4 separate regions of the Homo sapiens genome follow, and regions 1, 3 and 4 are each linked to region 2. The links are contacts of gene promoters, found by promoter capture Hi-C in blood cells and fetal thymus (Javierre and others, 2016). All regions are on one chromosome and are shown on one strand. The core of a region is centred on a gene start or on the middle of the fragment in contact, and the rest is flanking DNA. Distances in the headings are between cores, read along the strand shown.

Region 1 (3,446 bases), core at 762-3,261, 240 kb before region 2:
TACTCAGGAGGCTAAGGCACGAGAACTGCTTGAGCCTGGGAGGCGGAGGTTGCAGTGAGTTGAGATTGTGCCACTGCGCTCCAGCCTGGGCAGCAGAGCAAGACTCCATCTCAAAACAAACAAATAAAAAAAAACTAAGACCTCTATACTGAAAATTACAAAATATGATCGAAAGAAATTACAGATGCTCGAAAAAAATAGAGAGACGTAGCATATTCGTAGATTAGAAGACTCCTAATAAACTGATTTCATATGCAAATCAGTGGATCCCAATTGAGACCACAGCAGGTATTCTGTTGAAATTGAAAAGCTGATTTTAAAATTCATATGGAGGCCGGGCGTGGTGGCTCATGCCTGTAATCCCAGCACTTTGGGAGGCCGAGGCAGGTGGATCACAAGGTCAGGAGATCAAGACCATCCTGGCTAACACGGTGAAACACCCCCCTCTACTAAAAAATACAAAAAAATTAGCTGGGCATGGTGGCGTGCACCTGTAGTCCCAGCTGCTGGGGAGGCTAAGGCAGGAGAATGGCGTGAACCTGGGAGGCGGAGCTTGCAGTGAGCCAAGATCGTGCCACTGCACTCCAGCCTGGAAGACAGAGCAAGACTCCATCTCAAAAAAAAAAAAAAAAAAAATCCATATGGAAATGCAAAGGGCTAAAAAGAACCAAAACAAGCTTTGAAAAGTTTTAAAAAGTTGGAAGACCTACATTATTAGATACTATGGTTAACTGCAAATCTATTAGTTAAGACAGTGTTGCACTGGTACACAGATATGCAAACAGACCAATGAACTAGAATAAAGTGCAAAAACAGATCCATTTATATAATTTATTTCACTTATGACAAAGTTGCATTGGATAGCAGAGAAGAAAGGATGACTCTTTTAAATAAATACTGTTAGGCCAACTGAATTTCCAAACGGAAAAGTAACTCTCAATCCCTACCTCACACATAAAAAAAAAAAAATTCCCAGTGGATCACAGATCTAAATGAGTGATAGAACAATGAAGTTTATCAAAAATAATATAGAATATCTTCAAATAGGCATAGATAAAACTATTAAATTGGACTATTAAAATTAAGAGCATCTGTTCAGCAAAAAAAAAAAAAAAAAAAAAACACCATTAAGAAAGGGAAAACGCAGCACACACATAGAAAATAGCAACAAACAACAAAAAGCTCATTCATAGCCAGTGTACAGAAATAGCTCCTACAACTCAGTAAGAAAAATAAAGACAAACCAATTTCTTAAATGAATAGAAACTTCTCCACCAAAGATGACATCTAGTTGGTCAATAAACGTATGAAAAGGTATTCAACATTTTTAGTAATCTGGGAAATACAAATGAAACTACAATAGTTAAAATGAAAAAGAATTACAGTACCATGTATTGGCAAGGACAGAGCAACATTCTATAGGTCAGAGTGTAAATTGGTACAATCAATTTGAAGAACTGTTTGGCACACATACACCTTATCAAAAGAATTGCATACTTATATGAACCAATTGAAATATACAAGAATGTTACAGTAGCATTATACATAATTCCAAACTGGAAACCACCAAAATGTCATCAGCAATTGAACCAATAAATAATTTGTGATATGTTCATACAATGAAATATTATATACCCATTAAATGAAGAAACTACTACTATAAGCCACAATATCAATAAATCTAACATATTGTCAAGTGAAATAATCCAGACAATAAGAATAAGTATTACGTGATTTATATGACGTTCAAAACCAGGAGAAACTCATGTTAGAAGCTAGAGAAGTGGTATCTAGAGGGTGTGAGAGTGAGGGTACAGTAACTGAGAGAGGACATATACGGGGCTTCTGGGTGTTGGGATGTCCCATTTCACAATCTGGGTAGCAGTTACAGGCATCTTCCTTTTGGGAGAGTTCATCAAGCTAAGCAGTCATGATTCTTGCACTTTCCTGGATGCCTGTGATACTTCAGTTAAAAAGTTCACTTAGACATTGGCGGTCTTCAAGGCTACATGTTTATAATAACAACAATGGAAAGGCTGAAAACAAACTCCCTGTCCACCAACAATGACTTGTTAAGTTACTCTACCACATCCATGCACAACCATAAAAAAAAGAGTCCCCAAAGGAAAAACTGTAAAAGCTAGGTGCTAAAGTAACTACAGTATACAGCCATTCATGAACAAACATTAAGCAAAAGAGAGTATCTATAAATGTACTTCATTTTGTGAACTCAAAATTCTTGACATATTTTATTAAAACTTGAGTAGACAGTAGAGAGAGCTGCCATATACCCTACCAATACCACCTGCACATTCCCCGCGATTATTAGCATCCTACCTTACTACGGTATGTTAGTCACAATTGGGAACCAATACTGACATTACTGTCATTAACTAAAATTCTAGAGTTTAGGATTTCCTGAAGTTTCCCACTAATGTCTTTTACTGTATTCCAAGATCCATCCAGGATCCCATCCAGGAATTCCACATCACACTTAGGTGTCGCATGTCCTGAGATCCCTCCTGGTGGTGACAGTTTCTCAAAGGATGCTTGTTTCTGATGACCTTGGCATATCGAGTGGGCCTGGCAAGAGTAGACTGTAGGAAGGGTGTCTACTGGAATTTGTCTGATGTTTTTCCCATGGTTGGACTGGGGCTATGGGTTACTGAGAGGAAGACCACGGGGGAAAGTGCCATTCTCATCATATGAATTGATTTTTAAACACATGGACTAGAATTAACACACACCCACTCCACTAAACTGGTTTTACTGAACAGCAGGTTGTCACACAAACGGCTCCAAGGGAGGGAGTGGAGGAAATGGCAAGGCTCGGAGACACTGCTGTCAGATGCACGTGAGACTCAGCTGTACTCACCGGCGAAATAAACGTTTTGGCTCCGGGAAGGCAGAAAACGTCCACTTTGAGAGAAACTCACACCCTGCATAAGCCACTAACCGGTGGGGACTCCCACGCCACACATCGCACCAATACAAGCTCCATTCACAGAAAACCCCACTGCAAGTCGGTTATCGCTGCAAACTTCCTCTCTCTAACAGGAAGAAATCAGGACTCACGGGAGTAAGCAAAATGAGGCCTAAATCCGGCAAGCGAGGAAATCAAACACTTCCATCTTAATCACATATTATAGCGATGAGCAACCGAGTCAGATGGCCGCTGCTGGGTTTGACATTTTGTGGCTCTTCCTTTCCTCTGAGCTCCCAACTTGCTTCCAAGAATGAGGATAAATTAACATCCACATATCTGACCAGAGCCAACTTCTGCTCCCAAACATACGGCGACGGGGGAGACAGGATGCACCCAAAGTGGCCCCTGGCTGTGCGTGACAAAGCTTTCCAGGAACAGAGCGAGCCAGGCAGGACAACCGGCTTCGGCTGAGATCTGCAGACTGGGCCCTGGCAGAATAAATGAGCGGACTGGACCCAGT
Region 2 (3,617 bases), core at 44-2,543:
TGGTCCTGCAGGGGTTGGAAATGCACCATTTTGTGTACATGCTGGTCCTCATGCATGTAAAGTGAGGATGCCTGATTATCCACTGAATATCTTGTTTAAATAAAGTTTTGCTAATACCTATGTAGATATACTTCAAGATCTTTGTTGGGCCACTAAGATTGGTGTTTGGGTGTAGAGACTGGGGAAGCAACAGGAAAGATTTATTTTTAAGGATGAGCAAGGGATTCCTGGAAGGTCGCCTAAGAGAGCTCCAGATTGTCCTCCTTGAAGCTGCAGCAGGAAGCGGGTTTTATATGTTTGTTGTGTCTGCGTCATGGGATAGACTTTTCTACTGTAAAATGAGATTTTTTATGCTATGCTAAACACAGATGTTTTTCTCCTCCCGCCAACACTTCACAGGCATAGGGACCCCTCCCAATGTCACTGTGAGCTGTGAGCACTGAGATGGCTCCGAAGGCAGGAAGAGAGCTCGCTGGAAGTCCCAGGGGAGCAGGGAGAGAGCCAGGTGCCGCCCAGATGCTACACATGCCCTGTGGCTCTGCAGGGCGTTCTCTGGAAGAGTCAGGCCTCCTCCAGCTCCACCAGCATCATGGAGGCTGCTAAGCTGCCTCAGTTTCCCCAGTGCAGCTGTGACATGGGCCTGAAGGGACGTGGAGAGAGGCAGCTGATGTCTCCGCGCTGGCTGTGTCACTTGTGCTGGGTGGTGACCAGGGGCCACACCCCCATCCAGTCACATTAACTTACATGAAAACCTCCAGGTGATGCCTCCAGGGGCCACTAGGCTCCCTCAGGTCCCTGGACCAAGGCTGTGACCTACACAGATAGATTCTGCCAATTTCTCCTTGAGGGTCATGATGCTCTCCTCCTGGTCCATCTCAGAGTCTTCACTGGAGAAAGAAGTTTCCATCTACAAAGTGTGCTCCATGGAGACATGGCTCACCTCATTCCAGACTTCCATCTCCTTGGAAAAGTGACAAAGGATCTCAGAGGTAGGAGAAAGGCCCTGAAATCCCAGCACAGGCACTCGGGCTATGAAGGGTAGGAGGAGCGGAGCTGGGAGCCTGGGCTTTGAGGCCTTGCGAAATCCCCCTGTGCCACCGCCCAGCCAGACACACGAGCAACCCACCAAGGGGCGGGTGGATGCGGCCTTGGAATTCAGAGTTCCCGTTTGTAGAAACGAAATGTTTATTTCATGATGCAGTTGGGGGTAGAAAATGGGGATAAATCTCTAATTTCTCAGATTTCCAGAAATCGGGATTTTCCCTAAGTACCCCTGGCCTTGAGCTAAATCCCGTCACTGTCTTGGGCTGTGTGCTGACGGGAGCCAGGGCCTTGTAAGGCCCAGACCCTCCTCCTTCTCTCCCGTATTAGTCAAGGTTCTCCAGAGAAATGGAGTTAGAGATGCATTGCTATAAGAAATGGAATGGGCTCGCATGATTACAGAGGCTGAGGGGTCCTACACCCTGTCGTCTGCAAGCTGGAAAGGCAGGAGAGTCTGTGCTGCAGCCCTAGCCAGAGCCTGGAGGCCCGAGAACCAGGCACGCCGACGACAGCACACTTCCAGCCTGAGAGCAAGAGAAGGTCAGTGTTCCAGCTCCAGCAGGCAGGCAGAGGGAGGGTTCTCTCTCCACCTTTGTGTTCTACTCAGGTCTTCAATGGGTTGGATGAGGCCCATCCACATTGCGAGGGCGTCTGCTTCACTGAATCCACCATCGTACCTGCTTCTCTTGGATGCCGTCCGATTGCAGAGACGCTGTTCCCTTGAGGGTTCCTGCCCCACCGTGTGTGCTGGTGCTAGGATGTCTGCCCTGGTCCAGCCCTGCACCCCTGAGTCAGAGGCTCTTACTCTGGGTTCAATTAAGAAGGTTATTTGGCCCCCACACAAAGCTAAGACTTTCACCTTGGCATTTGTTAGGAGTAAGTAATAATTTGAGTTCTATGTGTTTTATTCTTTATCTCATGTCCAACTTGTTCTGAACCTGCATGGGGAAGAGGTGCTCTTAGTATTAAGCACTCTCAAAGGCCCTCAGTTCCTGGAGTGAGGAACTTTGAGAAATAAGAGGTGATGGGGTGAGGAGGGCAGAACACACAGTGAGAGGGCTTCACTGGGCGCGACGTGTGGCTTTGGGCCTTTCGGCTTAGATTCCAAACAGCACGTTTGACCTTGAGGTCTGCAATGGTTCTCCTGGGTGAGGCCTGGACCCCTGTGGCCCGGGCATGAGACCTTGAGCTCAGGCCATGCCATGCCTGACCTTGAACCTTGCTGATCAAGGCTTCGCCCACAGGCGAGGGGTATTCCAGGGAAGCAGGAAGTGTGCAGCAGGCACTGACCAAAGATGTGCCGCCCTCTGCAGAGGGACGAGGGGCCAGGCTGGGCCTTAAGGAAGCCCTGACGTATGCCTATCCTGGTGACCTTGCTCCGGTGGCCACCCTGTCAGGGCCCCTGCAGCCAGATGGAGCCCAGCAGTGCAGAGGCCTCTTTTCAGAGGCAGGTGTGTCTAAGGCTAGCATTTGGTTAAAGAGGATGAAGGCTCTGCTGTACAGGCCTTTTAAACCCTAGGTGGATGTATATTAGTCTGTTTTCACACTACTAATGAAAACATACCCAAGACTGGGTAATTTATAAAGGAAAGAGGTTTAATGGGCTCACATTACCACATGGCTGGGGAGGCCTCTCAATCATGGCAGAAAGTGAATGAGGAGCAGAGTCACGTCTTACATGGTGGCAGGCAAGAGCGTTTGTGGAGGGGAACTCCCCTTTATAAAACCATCAGATCTCAAGAAACTAACTCACGACCATGAGAACAGTATGGGGGAAAATGCCCCCATGATTCAATTATCTCCACCTGGCTCCGCCCTTGACATCTGGGGATTATTACAATTCAAGGTGAGATTTGGGTGGGGACACAGCCAAACCCTATCAGTGGAGAAAGGCCTATTTGCTGCTTTTACTAAAGTTCCTCCTTTAGGTCTGTGGGCAGAGGTTTCACCCTGAGGCAGCTGCTCTTGTGTGCCTTAGAGAACCAGGAAGGTGCAGGACGCAGGTGGCCGTGTCAGGACAGGAGGCAGAGCAGACCAGCTGCCCTGCACTGCTCTCTGCACTCCAGCCTGGGAGGGCTGTGCACAGGGGGACTTCAATGTCTGTGCTTTGTCTCCCAGTTCTGGGTAATGCCCAGAGCGCAACTCCCAAGTTTGTTCTGGACTTGTTCATTGCAGAAGCTCCAAGCAGAGTCTGAATCTGTGTATTTTAGAGATCTAAAAAGTGGCTTCCTTCACAGGAGGGTGGAAGTTTCTAAATGTCACAGATAAGGAATCAGGGCCTCTTTATGAGGGGGCGGAGGGCTTCCCCTCTGCACTGAAGTGTCCTGATCTGTTACAATACAACTAGGTCCTGGATGAACAATGAAAAATACTTTTCAAACATTGCTGGAGTTGCAATAAAGTGAGTGAATGCCTAAAGAAAAGAGAAAAACAAGCAGTGAGTTGAGACGAGAAAGGTAAATAAGAAAACTGGGCCGGGCACAGTGGCTCACGCCTGTAATCCCAGCACTTTGGGAGGTCGAGGCGGGCGTATCACGAAGACAGGAATTCGAGACCAGCCTGGCCAACATGGTGAA
Region 3 (3,347 bases), core at 444-2,943, 160 kb before region 2:
AAATTTAGATTAAATAAATCGGTATGCTTTTCTGCTGTTAATCTGTCTTATGCCAAGTGAATTCTCAGGCCTATCTGGGAACCCTAAGAGGTAGAAGTAGAGTGTTGCCTCTCCTATGGTTGCATAATTGCGGGAGGGATATCCCATCATATTTGCAAATCCTGCCATCCGTCACTATGCGCCAGAATCTTGGTGCCCTCGAAGAATTCTCCTTCCCACACCACGTCTGTCACAGTGGGTCTAAGGGATTTGCAGACCTCCCTGTGCTCACTTCTCCAGCCCTTGACTATATGTGGTACTGATTCACTGGTATATGTTAATATTTGTTTTGTGACCTGATGTGTGGTCATAGCCGGTGTTTGTCAATGTTTCATGTATGCCTGAAAAGAACGTGTTTCCTAATTTAGGAGTGCAAAATTATTATTATTATTATTATTTTTCGAGACAGAGTCTCACTCTTTCACCCAGGCTGGAGTGCAGTGGCACAATCTCTGCTCACTGCAACCTCCGCTTCCTGGGTTCAAGAGATTCTCCTGACTCAGCCTCCCAAGTAGTTGGGACTACAGGCACACATCACCACGCACAGCTAATTTTTGTAACTTTTAGTAGAGACAAGATTTCACCATGTTGGCCAGGCTGTTATCAAACTCCTGACCTCGCGTGATCCGCCTGCCTCGGCCTCCCAAAGTGCTGGGATTACAGGCATGAGCCACCACATCCGGCCAAAATTATTTTGATATATAAACATTAGTTTAAGCTTAGGATGGATGTATTTAGTAGATTGCAGAGCCTCTTCACCTCTTGGGCAACAGGTATCATGATAGGAAAGGCCCAGTGTAAGCCCTTGAATTGGCCTCCCTGCTCTCTGGAGCCCTGCCCTGGCCAAGACAGTAAATTAGTTGCAAGAAAATGGAGTGCAAAGACATTGTGTGAGTAAATCTAAGCAGGCATGAGCTATAGCATACATGATATAAGATAAGGTGATGGGTGGTGTCTGGCATACAATAATATAGCTTATAAGGCATGAGGGGACGTTGGAGTTGAAGCTCTCTGCATTCCTAGTGTTGGTAGGAAGTATACATTTGTATTTTGTTAAGCAAAAAATGTTTGTTCAAATTTTTAAAGAAAACACTAAACCACTTGAAATAAAATATATAACTTCCAAAGCAGCAGAGGGGACAGAAAAAAAGAAAGGAGAAAAAGAGGTGGGAAGATCAATCAATCCAAATGGGGGAAAACAAAAGAGGCATAGAAAGAGTAGGGTAAAACCAAAAGTGAAACTGGGAAATATGTCCAAATATATCAGTATTCACAATGAATGTAAATGGACTAAATTTGCCAGTTAAAGACAGACTGCCAGGTTGGGCTTAAAAATAAAAGCCATCTCCCTATTTTTTTTTTTTTTTACAAGCGATAGCATGAAACATGAAAATTCTGCAAAGCTAATAGTCTGAGCGGGGCAAAAAAAAAATGATGTTCTTAGCCAACACAAATCACAAGAAGTATCTGTTGTTATAATGTCAGTCAAAATTGACCCAGAGGAAAGAAAACATTTTTGGAGATAAAGGTGGCCACTGCATAAGGGTAAGAGGGACAATTCACCAGGAAGATAAATCAATTTAAACTTTTTGCATTTAGTGATTTAGCCCCAAAATAATATAAAGAAAAAATTTTAAAAATTCTAAGGAGAAATTTATAAATCCATAATATTGTAGAATACTACTCATTTGATAACTGATATATACAAGATTTGAATTAATTAACATGGTTATACTAATGTCCCCATATCAAAAGAATCCTACACTCCTAAATGAGGAAGCACATTTTTTTTTCAGGCATTCATGGAACATATAAACACTGGCTAAGGCTACACACTAGGCCAGAAGGCCAATCTCAACACATTTCAAAGAATTGATATCATACAGAATATATTCTCTTACCAAACTGTGATAGGGCTAGAAATCAATGGCAAAAAGATGACATCAAGAGAATCTATAGGCAAACTATTTGAACTGATAGGGAAGCTCAGGAAGTTTTCCAGACATAAGATCCATACATCAAAATTCATCGTATTTCTATACACAGAAACACTTAGAATTCTAAAGACACCATTTACAGTGCAAAAACTTCATGCTGCCTAGGGATAGACCTAACAAAACTTGTAAAAGATATTCGTGGAAACAGTTGTGAAACTTACTGAAATATATTTTAAACGGAACCAAATAACTGATGGTATACACCAAATTTCATCAATTCTGAAACATGCATTTTTTCACATTTTTAACATCTCAGAAATCAAATATGTCTTAAAATTAACTGTGTCATAGTTTCGTGTCGTAGATCAATTGGCAGCACTTTCTGTTTCCTCATAGCACATAAAATAATGGTGCATCTTCTACTTGATGGCATCTCGGATTCAATTAAATGAATACCATATCCATGGATGGAAAAGCTGAAAATTGTAAAAAATGATGATTCTCTTCAATGCATTTTAAAACCTCAATGCAATTTTTGGCAAATCACTTCTGAAAATCATTAAATAGCAAAGAGCTGAGAATAGGCAAGGCAATTTTGATAAATAACACAGTGGTGGAGGGGAGGTGTTTTACCCAAATGTCAAGATCTATTCTAAGCTTTAGGAATTGTGCCACATGGCCTTGGCACAGGAATAGACAAATACAGCGGCATAACAGAACAGGGTCCAGGCAGCAGCACATGTATGTATGGAAACTTGATCTATGACAGAGATTGCATTACGGAGCAGAGGAGAAAGACGACTAAATCATTGATACTTGGACAATGGGTTCTCCATATTAAACAAAAGAAAAATAAAATTACATTTCACATCAAACACATAAACTTGGCAGAAAAATAGTCTATATACGAAAAAGTAAAACTTCAGAGTCTTAGAAGGAAATGGGGTAGGAATAGTTTTATGTCCCATGAAAAGATTTCTTTCATAGCACACAGAAGCCAGAAGCCATGAAGGAAAATATTAATAAATTTGACATCACTGTTCAATATCATTAGCCATTGGGGAAATGCAAATTCAAACCACAATGCGCTGCCACTTCACATCTATCTGCTGGGCTGAAAGAAAACACAGTGGAGACTATGAGGCTGATGGGGATGCAGAACAACTGCAACTCTCACGTCTGGCTGATGGGAATGCAAAGTGGTGCAGCCAATGCAAAAAAAAGGCGTCTTGTTGCGTTGCAGTTTTTTCCCATTGGTAAACATCCACCTACCATATATATGATCCAGTGATATGGTTTGGCTGTGTCCCCACCCAAATCTCATCTTGAATTATACCGCCCACAATTTCCATGTGTTGTGGGAGGGACCCA
Region 4 (3,553 bases), core at 996-3,495, 180 kb before region 2:
CTTTTCATGCAGAAGTCCCCACAACAGCACCACCAAGCATGTGCCCCAAGGAGGGCCTAGCCGCGCCATGGACCACCTGGAGGCCTCCTTGGGATGCATCTGAATGGGCCTGCCTCCACAAAGTTAGAACAAGAGAGATCAGGTCCATCACCCAGCTGGAGCCAGGCACCAGTGCACAAAATAGAAAGAACAGAAGCAAACTCTCCATTAAATGCAAGAAGACTACACATACATGAAAACGCAAGGAAGTCCTTTGTGCAGACCACACCTCCACCCCACCCAGGCAGCCTGCCAGTTGGCCCGGCTCATCACTGGCTCACGCACTCTGGCCTCAGAGACCTCAGTCACCAGGCCACCATCTGGCCACAATGCCCTTTTCACAATGCAGCCCCGAAACTCTGGCTCTGGCTAAAAAGGACCACACCCCATTCCCACCCACCCAGCCTCCCCTTCCTCCTCCTCATCTGGGCCTGGCTCCTGCACCACGGCTCTCCCTACCAAGCAAGCCCTCCAGCCACAGCCCTGGTTCTCAGGATGGTGACCCGTGTGCACCTGCCTGTTTAGCTCCTTTTTCTCCTCTGTCCCTACCAACACCAAAGCCTCTTGTGGGCAGAGGCCAGTTTTCCTGATCAAGCCTGGGGTCATGGGGCTGGCCACTGCGTCTGGCACAGAGAATGTGTTCAACTGAGTCTCATCTCATGTAAAACCTAGTACTTGGGCTGGGGTGTAAAATGAGTATTTGCAAAATAATAACTAATCAATTAGAAATATTCAGGGAACATGGCCCCCAAGGACCACCCCCCCTCCACCCCCAACCCCACCACCAGGGAGGCCAGTGGAGATACCACAGAAACTTCTCTTCCTCAGTTTAAAAAAGAACCGCTCCAGCAAATAGCAACACATAAACCAGATGATGGGCCATTCCCAAGGGAAAATGCAATTCCATCACCGCTTGAACAATACTCCCACTTGGAATGCTGGTTCAGACTTTCAGGTCCTAAGAACTGATTTATTGTTTCAAGCTTAAACATCAATCCAGCAAAAGCACTTGACTCACACAGACGGAGTACTTCATAAACAACAGTAAACTCACAAAGCCCAACACTCACATTTTTAAACAGAGCAGACTCCAAAATGTTTATGTACACAAACATATTAATGTATCATATTAAAATTATGACGCTAAATAAGAAGTGATTAAATAATGTCATTAATTCTAATTTAAAACAAGCAGAGAAAAACTTCTTCATAAAAGCACCACTCGCCTCCTCACACGCCGGGGCCCTGGGCGAAGCGGCTGGAGAACAAGCTGCACACACCTGCCTTGGCCTTGGCACAACAGTCGCATTTGCCACTCGACAGCTGTGTTGAAGGCCCTTCTCCCTCCCATTCCTTTCTGCATCACAGAATTCCCTCCACTTGCATTTATGACATCTCCTTAGGAGCATGTAATCTCCAAAATCAGGACCAAGAAGTTCCCAGATGGGGGCAGGGGGTGTCAGGAAACAGGCAATTCCAGAGCACTGGCAAGAACCCCGCAGAGGGGCCAGGCCAGAGGTGGGGCCTCACCCCAGCTCTCCCACCCAAGGCCCGCATTGTGCCATTCACTGGGCTACCTACTCATCCATTCATTCATTCACTCATTCATTTTCTTTCATTCTTCGAGCACCTACACTGCCAAGCACAGGGTACAGAGCAGGCATGAGGCCCTCAGGGCCCCTCAATCCTACAGAGCCCCAGCTAGTAGAAAAGGTGGCATTAAACAACTAAGGTCACAATGAGCTCCTTCCTGAAATTGCACAATGGGATGCTGTTAGAAAGGAGGAAAAAAGCTATTAGGCTAAGTTTAACAGGGGATCAAAGGATGAGAGGATGAGCATGAACTGAGGGGCTGGAGAAGAGGAAGGTAAAGGGAGGCCATTCCAAGGAAGGGGAACAGTGTGTGCAAAGGCCCCGAGGTCAAAGGGGACTTAGAGAGAGCTAGAAAGTAAAGCAGGTGGCAGCTGAAACTCCACAAACACAGCAAGTGCTATCAGATGAGGCTGGTAAAACAGAGGCCAGGATCAGGCAGGCCTTCCAGGGCCCTGAGACCTTAGGATCCTAAGAATACAGGAAAGTCATGCCAGGGTTTCAAGCAAGGGAATGAGAGGTACAAACCTGCTTCTGGTGGAAACCTGGGAGACTGTTTGTAGGATGGGCTGTAGCAGAGCCCGCTCAGACCCCGAGGGTCAGTCCCCACCTTGAAGAGCTTACATGTGAGTTAGAAAAACAAATGCCCCTAAATTCTTCTATTGCAAAGCATATTTATCAACTTGCCAAGGACTTAAAGAGTACTTTTCTTTCCAATGAAGATATCTAAATGTTTTCAAATTACTACTGTAAAAAAGTAATACACGCTTACCAAAAGAATCTCTACAATACCACCATGTATAAAAGAAAAGTGTACCCCGTCTCCTCACCTCTGATGGTTACCTTAGAGACCCATGTACTTAAAACCAGGAGTGGCCCGGGGACTGCTCCAGACCCCGCCTTTCCCTCTTACACTGCACACTTCTGCCTGTCTACACATGGAGGATGCCACAGTGCAGAAATGCCAGCAGGTTTAACAAGTACTCCTTTTATAAATAATGCAGCCCCGACCTCCACACACGTCTGGATATCTACACACTTATCTTCTTTCCTTAGAATAGATTTCAAAATGTAGAACTGTGGGGACAAGGAGAATGGCATTTAAGATTTTGACACTTAAGACTTTTCTAGAGAGCAATTCGGTAATCACTATTTTATGTTTATACATTACATATATAAACTTTTTTGGGGGGGACAGCCCAGGGTCTCGCTGTGTCACTCAGGCTGAAGTGCAGTGGCAAAATCACACCTCACTGCAACCTTGACTTTCCAGGCTCACGTGATTCTCCTGCCACAGCCTCCCAAGTAATGGGGACTACAGGCACACGACGTCATGCCTGATTTTTTTTTTTTTTTTGTAGAGATGAGGGTCTCACTATGTTGCCCAGGCTGGTCTTGAACTCCTGGGCTCAAGTGATCCTCTCACCTTGGCCTCCCAAAGTTCTGGGATTACAGGCATAAGGTACCTCGCCCAGCCCTATTATATTTTATATAATAATACATATGGGTCTCTCCAGAGAGCAAATGATAATAAATAACAGCCAACATTTATATCATGCTTACTACATGCCAGGCCCTATTCAAGGAAATTTCCATACATTAACTTAAACTTTGCAAAAACCTTACAAAATAGAAATTATTATTATGACCAGCAACAGGTATCATCAAACTCGCCAATATGATAGGCATAAAGGGAATCTCCTTCACACTGAATTGATTAGTAATGCTAACCTTTCATCACTGGCACAATGATTCAATGTTCATACGTTCTGCTCATCTTGCAATGGTGATCTCATGCTCTCCTTATTGGTCTGTAAAAGCTCTTTATATATTGACTGTTAAGCTTACACAGGCATAATGTGGTATGTATTTTCTCTCTCGTCTCTTAGCCCGGCTGACGGAGTCTTTTGCCAAAGAGATTTTT

The links. Contacts are between HindIII fragments. The CHiCAGO score rates a contact against its expected background, and 5 or more counts as called.
Region 1: a fragment that was not itself captured here is called in contact with the fragment with the promoter of LINC02991 in region 2 in 1 of 17 cell types (neutrophils); the score reaches 5.1 in neutrophils.
Region 3: a contact is called between a fragment that was not itself captured here and the fragment with the promoter of LINC02991 in region 2, in 1 of 17 cell types (neutrophils). The highest score is 5.4, in neutrophils.
Region 4: a fragment that was not itself captured here is called in contact with the fragment with the promoter of LINC02991 in region 2 in 1 of 17 cell types (M0 macrophages); the score reaches 5.7 in M0 macrophages.

What each region holds. Positions count from the first base shown.
Region 1 is chr2:239,334,409-239,337,854 of GRCh38, forward strand. All of the region lies in intron 2 of HDAC4 (histone deacetylase 4), which reads right to left. Among named protein-coding and RNA genes, the nearest start is that of MIR2467, 16 kb to the right of the region's middle. The HindIII fragment of the contact is 2,673 bases long and covers 676-3,348 here.
Region 2 is chr2:239,577,008-239,580,624 of GRCh38, forward strand. It overlaps LINC02991 (long intergenic non-protein coding RNA 2991), which reads left to right and starts at 1,294. Exons shown (of 2, transcript NR_172921.1): 1 at 1,294-1,917. The HindIII fragment of the contact is 7,503 bases long and covers 1-3,617 here.
Region 3 is chr2:239,413,130-239,416,476 of GRCh38, forward strand. No RefSeq gene overlaps it. Among named protein-coding and RNA genes, the nearest start is that of HDAC4-AS1, 13 kb to the left of the region's middle. The HindIII fragment of the contact is 1,876 bases long and covers 756-2,631 here.
Region 4 is chr2:239,393,170-239,396,722 of GRCh38, forward strand. The region is part of intron 1 of HDAC4 (histone deacetylase 4); the gene reads right to left. Among named protein-coding and RNA genes, the nearest start is that of HDAC4, 6.1 kb to the right of the region's middle. The HindIII fragment of the contact is 2,450 bases long and covers 1,021-3,470 here.